Linked DNA regions of Homo sapiens: regions 1 and 2 are each linked to region 3. The links are contacts of gene promoters, found by promoter capture Hi-C in blood cells and fetal thymus (Javierre and others, 2016). All regions are on one chromosome and are shown on one strand. Each heading gives the region's core, a stretch centred on a gene start or on the middle of the fragment in contact. The rest is flanking DNA. Distances are from core to core; before and after follow the strand shown. Region 1 has its middle 12 kb from the start of TNFRSF10B. Region 2 has its middle 8.1 kb from the start of LOXL2. Region 3 holds the start of TNFRSF10A (TNF receptor superfamily member 10a).

What was found. Contacts are between HindIII fragments. The CHiCAGO score rates a contact against its expected background, and 5 or more counts as called.
Region 1: a contact is called between a fragment that was not itself captured here and the fragment with the promoter of TNFRSF10A in region 3, in 1 of 17 cell types (total CD8 T cells). The highest score is 5.9, in total CD8 T cells.
Region 2: a contact is called between a fragment that was not itself captured here and the fragment with the promoter of TNFRSF10A in region 3, in 1 of 17 cell types (M1 macrophages). The highest score is 5.3, in M1 macrophages.

The regions. Positions count from the first base shown.
Region 1 is chr8:23,079,435-23,082,754 of GRCh38, forward strand. It overlaps the pseudogene TNFRSF10B-AS1. Among named protein-coding and RNA genes, the nearest start is that of TNFRSF10B, 12 kb to the left of the region's middle. The HindIII fragment of the contact is 3,866 bases long and covers 33-3,320 here.
Region 2 is chr8:23,410,524-23,413,818 of GRCh38, forward strand. No RefSeq gene overlaps it. Among named protein-coding and RNA genes, the nearest start is that of LOXL2, 8.1 kb to the left of the region's middle. RefSeq lists a silencer at 1-107 and an enhancer at 1-92. The HindIII fragment of the contact is 932 bases long and covers 935-1,866 here.
Region 3 is chr8:23,223,433-23,226,456 of GRCh38, forward strand. TNFRSF10A (TNF receptor superfamily member 10a) reads right to left here and starts at 1,670. Exons shown (of 10, transcript NM_003844.4): 1 at 1,324-1,670. The coding sequence starts at 1,629. It overlaps TNFRSF10A-DT (TNFRSF10A divergent transcript), which reads left to right and starts at 1,789. Exons shown (of 3, transcript NR_033928.1): 1 at 1,789-2,691. RefSeq lists promoters at 1,162-2,198, 1,627-3,024, 1,627-2,280, a cis regulatory region at 1,162-1,241, silencers at 1,263-1,512, 1,680-1,871 and an enhancer at 1,923-2,062. The HindIII fragment of the contact is 5,488 bases long and covers 1-3,024 here.

The DNA of each region.
Region 1 (3,320 bases), core at 716-3,215, 140 kb before region 3:
CTTTTTCAAAATTTATTATTTTACCCAGATAAAGCTTATAATTGTAAGATTTCTTCCATTCTCCCCTTCCAAAGAAAATCAGTGGCATTTTTATCAATTTATCTTAAAACTAAAAATTAATCTAGAAATACTTAATATCTTATCAATATTCAGTATTTCCTTATCCATTTTGAAGTCAAGTATTTTATTATAACTGAGTTGTGATTTGTTTTCCTCTTCAGATAAATTTATTCCTATTTCTTTTCATGGCTGTTTGGTATTTTGTAATCGTTATAAGTTGCATAGCCTTGTAATTCTGTTTGCTAATTTATTGCATCTACTATGTTTTTAACATTCCTTCAGACATACATTTATATTTCCATATCATAGTTTCATTCTTAGGGTTGTTTGTTTCTGTTTGTTTGTTTTTGACAGAGTCTGGCTGTGTCGCCCAGGCTGGAGTGCAGTGGTGCAATCTCGGCTCACTGCAACCTCCGCCTCCTGAGTTCAAGCGATTCTCCTGCCTCAGCCTCCCGAGTAACTGGGACTACAGGCATGTGCCACCATGCCTGGCTAGTTTTTTTTTTTTTTTTTTGTATTTTTAGTAGAGACGGGGTTTCACCGTGTTAGCAAGGATGGTCTCAATCTCCTGACCTCGTGATCCACCTGCTTCGGCCTCCCAAAGTGCTGGGATTACAGGCGTGAGCCACTGTGCCTGGTCGGCCCCATTCTTAGGGTTTTTAAGTGACATTGAATATAATGATTATTGTGTCTGCCCACTTCCAAGAATCTTGCCTCATTTTTGTTTTCCATCTTGTTGCACAGGCCAGAAATTTCAGAACCATGTTCAGCTGCGCTTAGGGAAGGCAGGTGTTTGGGTCCTGATTTGATTTCCGGGGAAGGCCTCTAACATGCCACCTTTAGGAATGGTGTTCACTTTTGGTTTCATATAGAAAGAAATTCACATCATCAAGAATGCAGCCTCCTATTCTAAAGGGGTTCCAAAAATTCAGAATTGGTGTTTAATTTCACCAAATGTCTTTTCAGCCTCCATAGAGACTGATGCTTTATTTCCTTATTTAGATTGTTGATATGGTACAGTATTGATGATCAAAGAACTTTTGGAGTCTTGGAATAAATTCTTTTGTTAGATGTTTCCTGAGCGCTCTCATACATAGTCCTCTGTTGAGACTTCTGTTGGTAAAAATTCTGTAATGAAGTGATTCTCTCCTGTGAGGGTGGGTGGAAATTGATGAGATGGGGAAGAAAGGGACTTTCTGGGGTGTGGCAATGTTCTATGTCTTGATCATAGGATTATTACACAGGTGTATACAGTAGTCAAAGTTGGGCAGAACACTTATGAAGTGAGCATTTACTCCCTGTCACTTTTGTTTCAATGAGTCACCAGCACACAGAGCCCAAGAGCTATGCAGGACCAGAGGTTTGTCTCCATCTCCACAGAGACCTGAGAGGGGAAGCTCTGTAGGTCTCTTGCTGGCTGGTGATCGGGGTCAGTACTAGACTGCAGGATTCCTGACTCTGACCAGAGCATTCCCCACTGTGTGTTACAGGAACAGGCAAAAGCTGAAAGGGTCATGGGAGGAGGCTGCTGGTTCCAGTGAATGGCGCTGACCCCACTGAGAGTAAGTGTTTTGTGCCTGGAGATGTAGAAGGAATGGAGGCAATAGGGACGATGTCCTAACTGCTAGCCCCATAGCTGAGAGTGCTCTTCTGGAGCATTCCCTGCTGGAAGTAGGGGGTCCTATGCCGATCCTGTGCTGATGATCTTTGGAGCATGAAGACCCTAAATCCCTCTCTTTCCTCTTCTTCTCAGTCAACACCTTGCTGGAGGCCTCAAACACTGAAAGAAAGACATGCAAAGGAAATAATTCAGGACCAACTGGTGGGCTCCAAAAATCTCTTCTATGAGGAAGGTGAATGCAGGCTCTGCTACGTCCTGCCTGTGAAAGAATCCCTTCAGGAAACCAGAGCTTCCCTCGTTTACCTTTTCTCCTACAAAGGGAAGCAGCCTGGAAGAAAGAGTCCAGTACTTGACCCATGCCTCAACAAACTCTGCTATCAATATGGTGCAGCTTACCAAAGGTCCTAGAACTTTGTCAACGCACTTGGAGTAATTTTTATGAAATATTGTGTGTGATAAGCAAACTGTGGAAATTTATATAAGATGTTGGTGGCATAGAGTTATACGATTGTGTATTAAGGGTAGTTTTAGGATGTCATTTTTTTTTCAGTTCATCATGACAGAAGTCCTTTTCATGAGAGAAGTCACATGAGAAAAAACTTTCTTATATTGTAAGCTCCTTCTATAGTGGTATGTGCATTTAATGACATCCAACTAAAGATGGTGTAATACCACGGTGGTTTGACTTAGAGTTTTTTAACTTTATATCTGGTTTATCTGGGTATTACATGCGTTTTAAATGTGGATCTTTTCAACTTACGATGAGATTATCAAGACATAGCCCCATGCTAAGTCATGAGCATGTGGACTTATAATGGTTCAATTTAGATTTTTCGGCTTTAAGATAGGATTATTGGGGCTTACCCCCATCTTAAGTAGAGAAACATCTGTATTGTGTAATACTATATGATGTACATTTTTCTGTTTTCCTATTTTCGTGCATGTTGATGTAAGCATGGAAAAATTTTAGGAAATGTATTTATTAGGCTGTTTACATGGGCTGCCTGGTGCAAATCAGCAGTCAAAAATGACTACATACACAACTAGCAATGGGAGGAGAAATCCTCCCTCTGTGGGAGGCACTGACTACATTCCAGTTCTCCCTCCTACGCCCAGAGACTGGACCAGGGTTTGATGACTGGCAACTTCTCAAGGGGCCGGTCTGTCTTAGTTGATGATTTTAGAGGTATATAGAGGTATTTATTTACAAATAAACAAATATTTATTTATAAGTAGATGTTTACATATGCCCAGGATTTTGAAGAGCCTGGTATCTTTGGGAAGCCATGTGTCTGGTCTGTCCTGCTGGGACAGTCATGGGACTGCATCTTCGTCCTTGTCCACAGCAGATGAGGACAGTGAGAATTAGGTTAGATCTGGGACTACAAATAGCTTCTCTTTCAAGTGCCATTACAGCTGAACATTAGTGAATCTTGGGCCTTCTTTGGGCTCAGGGCAGAGCAGGTGTTTATCTGCCCCGGCATCTGCTATGGCATCAAGAGGGAAGAGTGGACGGTGCCTGGGAATGGTGTGAAATGATTGCTGACTCAGGAGTGGATGGGCCCCTCTCGCTTCTGGTGGTCTGTGACCCTGAGCCCCTGAGCTGCATTTTACGGTAAAGATTCCTGAGCTGCAGCAT
Region 2 (3,295 bases), core at 151-2,650, 190 kb after region 3:
CCTCCGAGGAAGCAGCGCCCCTTAGTGGTCTGTCTCTCACACGGCAATGTGCGCTTGCTCTCTTCAGGGCCAAGCTATACCAATGGGGTTGAAACCCTAAAATTCTAGAGATTTAAAGGGTTAAGATCTAAAGAGCCGCCAGGTAACTTGAGAAATTGTGCTCCAAGCATCTTGTTTACAGACATGGAACCAGAGGCCCAGAGAGCTGTCAACCCGAGCACCTTCCCTAGGAGGCTTTAGCAGGGGTGCTGAGACCAGACCCAGACCAAGTCAGCTAAGCCCCAGGAGAGTTCCAAATCTGCTCAGAAAGTACAATTGTAAATTGCATATGTATGCAATCAGGAGTGGTTAGGACGCATCTGCCTTTTTCCCAGGAAACACAACGTTTTTACATTGAAAAGTGTAATTTCATTTAATCTATTTTCTAGGATGTAAAATTATTCTGTCAACCACAGTGTGCTAACTTCATCCCTTTCCTTTTCTTTTGCTTACTTTATTATTATTATTGTTATTACATATATTTTTTAAGACAGAGTTTCACTCTTGTTGCCCAGGCTGGAGTGCAGTGATGCAATCTCGGCTCACTGAAACCTCCACCTCCTGGCTTCAAGCCATTCTCCTGCCTCAGCTTCCTGAGTAGCTGGGATTACAGGCGTGCGTCACCACGCTCAGCTAATTTGTGTGTGTGTGTGTGTGTGTGTGTGTGTGTGTGTGTGTGTGTGTGTGTATTTTTAGTAGACATGGGGTTTCACCATGTTGGTCAGGCTGGTCTCTAACTCCTGACCTCAAGTGATTGACCTGCCTCGGCCTCCCAAAGTGCTGGGATTACAAGCATGAGCCACTGCACCTGGCCTTCTTTTGCTTAATTTATTATTAATCATCATCATTAACAGCCTGTTTGAGAGTATGAAACAGTTTACTTGGAGGAGCTCAAAGCTTCTCATAGCTTTCTCTAATGAAGAAGGCTATGCAGGGCAGTCCTGTGTATTCAGCAAAGAAGGAAATTCAGTCTGGGAGGGAGAAGCATTCCATGAGACCAGGTTACATGACTAACTTGCCCTTTCCATCACCCGCTTGAGTTGGGAGTGACTCAATCCCTCCAACAACTTCCTGTGCTTGGAGCCCATTTGGGGTCCAGTTCAGGGTGATGTCACTCAGTGCCTCCCCTGCTTTGAAGTGGGACCAGGATCAGTACAACTCAAGCAGCCTGGGAAGGTCCTAGTCATAATAATAATAAAAAAAGTGTGCTTTCCTCTCCTGGGGATTAACATATCTGAAATCTTGCAATTAGAAATTAGTTCCTTTGAGTGAACTACCAATACATGCAACACTGTTTTAGTCCATTTTCTGTTGCTATAACAGAATACCACAGACTTGGTAATTTAAAATGAACAGAAATATATTTGACTCATGGTTCTGGAGGCTGGGAAGTCCAAGGGCATGGCACTTGGAAGGGAGAGCAAGCAAGAGAGCAAGAGGGGGCCAGAGTCCCCTTTACAAAAAGCCCACTCTTGAAATAACATTAATTCATTCATGAGGACAGAGCTGTCATGACCTAGTCACCTCTTATCAGACCCCAACACCCAGCTCTGATGCACTGGGGGTTAAGTTTCCAACACATGAACTCTGGCGGACACATTCAAACCATAGCAAACAGTATGGTTGAATCTCAAACATATCAGGATGCCTGCCCCCAACTCTGACATGCACAAAAAAGCCAGCCACAAAAAGGAGACATACTGTATGATCCAGTCATAACTCTAGAAAACTCTAGAAAAGTCTAAACTAAACAGCAGGGACTGAAAGCAGATCACTGGTGGCCTGAGGCTGGAGGTGGGTGAGGTGGCCTGGGAAGGAGCATGAGGAAGCTTTCTGTAGTGATGGAAATGGCCTATTCCTTGATTGTGGTGGTGTTTATATTAGCATATGTGTTTGTCCCAAACTCATGAAACTGAACACTTAAAATGGGTGACTTTATTTTAGGTAAATTACTCCATAATAAAGTTGATTTTAAAAATTAGTCCCTTGGGTGCCCCTTTTCTATCCTCTTTCAAAATGAAAAGTTTGGTCCAGGCTTGATGGCTCATGCCTGTATGTAATCCCAGCACTTTGGGAGGCTGAGATGGGAGGATAGCTTGATCCCAGGAGGTGAAGACTGCAGTGAACTATGATGATGCCATTGCACTCCAGCCTGGGCAACGTAGCAAGATCCTATCTCTAAATAAATAAATGAAATAGGCTGGGTGCGGTGGCTCACGCCTGTAATCCCAGCACTTTGGGAGGCCGAGATGGGCGGATCACGAGGTCAGGAGATCAAGACCATCCTGGCTAACACGGTGAAACCCCATTTCTACTAAAAATACAAAACATTAGCCAGGCATGTTGGCGGGCACCTGTAGACCCAGCTACTCCAGAGGCTGAGGCAGGAGAATTGCGTGAACCCGGGAGGCGGAGCTTGCAGTGAGCCAAGATCGCGTCACTGCACTCCAGCCTGGGTGACAGAGCCAGACTCTGTCTCAAAAAAAAAAAAAAAAAAAAAAAGAAATAAAATAAAATGAAAAGTTTGGGGAAGAGTAATGCGGGGTAATATGTGGTTTAGAGTATAGTAGCTGGAGCAACACTGCCTGGGTTTGAATCGCAGCTCCACCACTTACTAACCATAACTGAGCAAGTTATTTAACTTCACTGGGCCTCAGTTTTCTCACCTGTAAAATAGGGAGGGACCTCATAGGATTCTTGTAAGGCTGAAATGAATGTATGCGTGTGAAGTGCTCAGAGCCCAATGCCTGGCAGACAGCAAGTGCCACTCAGTTTGAAACTAATTTACATGGACGTGACTTGTTAGCTTCAAATTGACAGCTTTTTTCTAGTTATGATTCTTTAAAAATTTTAAGAGCAGTTTTAGATTTACAGAAAAAAATAAACAGAAAATGTAGAGAGCTCCCATATGCCCCTCATACACAGTGAGTTTCCTCTACTATTTTCATCTTGCATTTCGGTGGCACATTTATCACAATTGATGAGCCAGTATGGACACATTATTATTAACTGAAGTCCGCAGTTTACATTAGGGCTTATTCTTTGTGTTGTACATTCAATGGGTTTTCACAAATGTATCCATCATTGCAGCATCATGCAGAATGGTTTCATTGCCCTAAAAATTCCCTGTGTTCCACCTTTTTACCCCTCCCTTCCCCATAATCCCTGGCAACCACGGATCTTTTCACCGTCTCCATAGTTTTGCCGACTCCAGAGTGTCCCATAGTTGGAGTCATACAGTATGTAGACTCTCCAA
Region 3 (3,024 bases), core at 420-2,919:
ACCTTGTCTATACAGGTGAGCCCTACATCCACCTGGAATCGCACTAGCCTGTCAAAAAGAAAGCCATTTAATAAGCGTATTAAAAATAAGAGTCAAACGTGGGTTCCACCTAACATAAACTGACGTTTAAAACATAAATTCTGTAATTATTTGGAGATTTCAAAATGCTATTGGATTCCTGGATTTTGTTTAGTTTGTTAAACAAAAACACGTAAAATTTCCTGACACTTGTAAGACTGGTTTATCCTTCAGGTACTTAGCTTTCGTTTTGTTTTTCCTTAACATAGAAGGAATCTGGATGAGAACAATTGGTAGAGCCTTAATGAACTTGAAAGAGAACTGAAGGCATTGGCATTTTTCCAGACTGAGTGATTGCTTTCACAGGAAACGCTGCCTCCTGAAGGAAGGGCGTGCCCCGCTCCTGGCTGCCTGCCTCGTGGTGGTCAATTCGCTGCCCTGTACCTGTTGATGCGCAAGAAAGTGGCTGGAAGGAAACTGCTGCCGGTGTGCTCAGTGGACTCGAAACGGAAGACAACGAGCAGAGGAGAGAAAGTTACTTTTTCCTGCCGGGCTGCGTGTTTAACCAATTTGTCTAAGAAAAGAAGGATGGAGGGCCGGGCGCGGTGGCTCACGCCTGTAATCCCAGCACTTTGGGAGGCCGAGGCGGGCGGATTTGGCTAACACAGTGAAACCCCGTGACTACTAAAAATACAAAAAATTAGCCGGGCGTGGTGGCAGGAGCCTGTACTCCCAGCTACTCGGGAGGCTGAGGCAGGAGAATCGCTTGAACCAGGAAGGCGGAGCTTGCAGTGAGCCGAGATCGCGCCACTACACTCCAGCCTGGGCGACAGAGAGAGACTCCGTTTCAAAAAAAAAAAAAAAAAAAAAAAGAAGAGAAGAAAAGAAGGACGGGGGTGGGGAGGGAATCAGGGAGTGGGGAGAATGGCGCTCCCCTTCACGCAGCTGGTGTGGCTGGGAGTTGGCTTGGAAGTTTACACACTTGAGCTCTATCGATTCCGAAACTTCCCGATACATCGTGAGGTGTGGGCAGGAGGGAGACGCGCCAGGCAGCAGCCAACGGGGTGGAGTCCCCGGGCCCAGCCTCCTGCGGGAGGGGGCTCTGCTGCCTCCAGGCCCGGGTCGCTCCTGCCTGGCCCCGGGGACCCCGTTCTTCCTCCGACTCCGACGACGGGCTCCTCCTGCCCGGACATGCCCCGCCACAAGTGACCCGGGCCAGGCACCCCCGCCGCGTCCCCCTCTCTCTCTGCCCCCTCCCGGTGCCAGGCGCGCTTTTCCCCAGGCAGGACCGCGGTGGGGACTCACCTGCAGCAGGACCCCGACGACGACAAACTTGAAGGTCTTGTGGACCCGGAGCCGAGGGCTGGCTTCCCGCGCCGGCCTGGGTCCTGGGGCGCGCCCTGCCCGGGCCCGGGCACTGGGTCCGTGCTGTCCCATGGAGGTAGGGAGCGCTCCTCGGCCCCCGCCTCGTGGTTCAATCCTCCCCGCGGAAGAGCCCCACACTTTGCTGGGTGTGGCCGCGGCTGCCTCTGTCCCACTCGCTGCGCTCCCGGGATTCGGAGTCACTGCCAGGAACGCACCTAGATGTACTCTAGCTGGTGGTGGCGCCATCCTGCCAGGTCAATCCAAGAAGCAGCGTGCTTGGCTATGACAAGACAGAACTTCGCATTCGGAGTTCAGGGCACCCCTGACCCCGCCCCCTTTTCGGGGCACCTGCGGCTCCTGTTGGCTAACCCTGAACTTCCTTCCTCTGTGACCGCCCTTGCCGCTCTCAGCTTCTGTTCCTCAACCACGGCCGCCGCGTGGATGCCGCTGCATTCGGAGTCGTTTTGCCACTTGGTCCCAGCGCCAGGCTTCTCGGTCGGGAGTTGACCTCAGCCTTTCTGTGACCCAGTTCCTGGCACCCAGCAGGCGCTCGGTGGACGGATGGGTGGCGGAATGAAGGACACAGAGGCCACTGCGGGGTCTGGCCTCTAAGAGGCTTTTACGGCCTCCTCCGTCACTACCGGGCGAGTGATTCAGCCTGCCTTTTTTTTTTTTTTTTTTTTTTGAGATGGAGTCAAGCTCTGTCGCCCAGGCTGGAGTGCAGTGGCACGATCTCGGCTCACTGCAACCTCCGCCTCCCAGGTTCAAGCGATTTTCCTGCCTCAGCCTCCTGAGTAACTGGGATTACAGGTGCCCGCCACCACGTCCGGCTAATTTTTTTTCTATTTTTAGTAGAGACGGGGGTTTCACTGTTTTGGCCAGGCTGGTCTCGAGCTCCTGATCTCGTGATCCGCCCGCTTCGGCCTTACAAAGTGCTGGGATTACAAGCGTGAGCCACCGTGCCCGGCTCATCCTGCTTTTGGTTTCAGGTCTCCATGCCAGTGAAATGTCACCTCAACTCCACCGTCCCTGGTGTCAGGCAAGCCCGAGGGACCCAATTCTGCCTTTCTTCTGGATTTTCCTAACCTGTTAAGAGTCTTGAAAGTCCTTAAACCACGGGAGACTATCTGGCACATGACACGGGATGAGACTTGGTGGGGGTCCCACGGGGGACAGGTCCTTCCAGCGGTTCCTCTGCACCCAGCGCTGCACGGGCATGGGGCGTGGGTAATCAGCCTCCCGAAAGCCACGCGAGTCACGGTCCTGCCTGCGAAGAACTCCCAGGGCGACCTTGGGGCTGAGGAGTGGGTAAGAGAAAGGGGGCGCTGATTGATGTTCATTTTTCTCCATATTTTAATGGTGTTCCGGTACCATTTGTTGAAAAGACTCTTTTCGACCGGGCGCGGTGGCTCACGCCTGTAATCCCAGCACTTTGGGAGGCCGAGGCGGGCGGATCACCTGAGGTCAGGAGTTCGAGACCAGCCTGACCGACATGGAGAAACGCAGCCTCTACTAAAAATACAAAATTAGCGGGGCGTGGTGGCGGATGCCTGTAATCCCAGCCACTCGGGAGACTGAGGCAGGAGAATCGCTTGAACCCGGGAGGCAGAGGCTGCGGGGAGCCGAGATGGAGCCATTGCG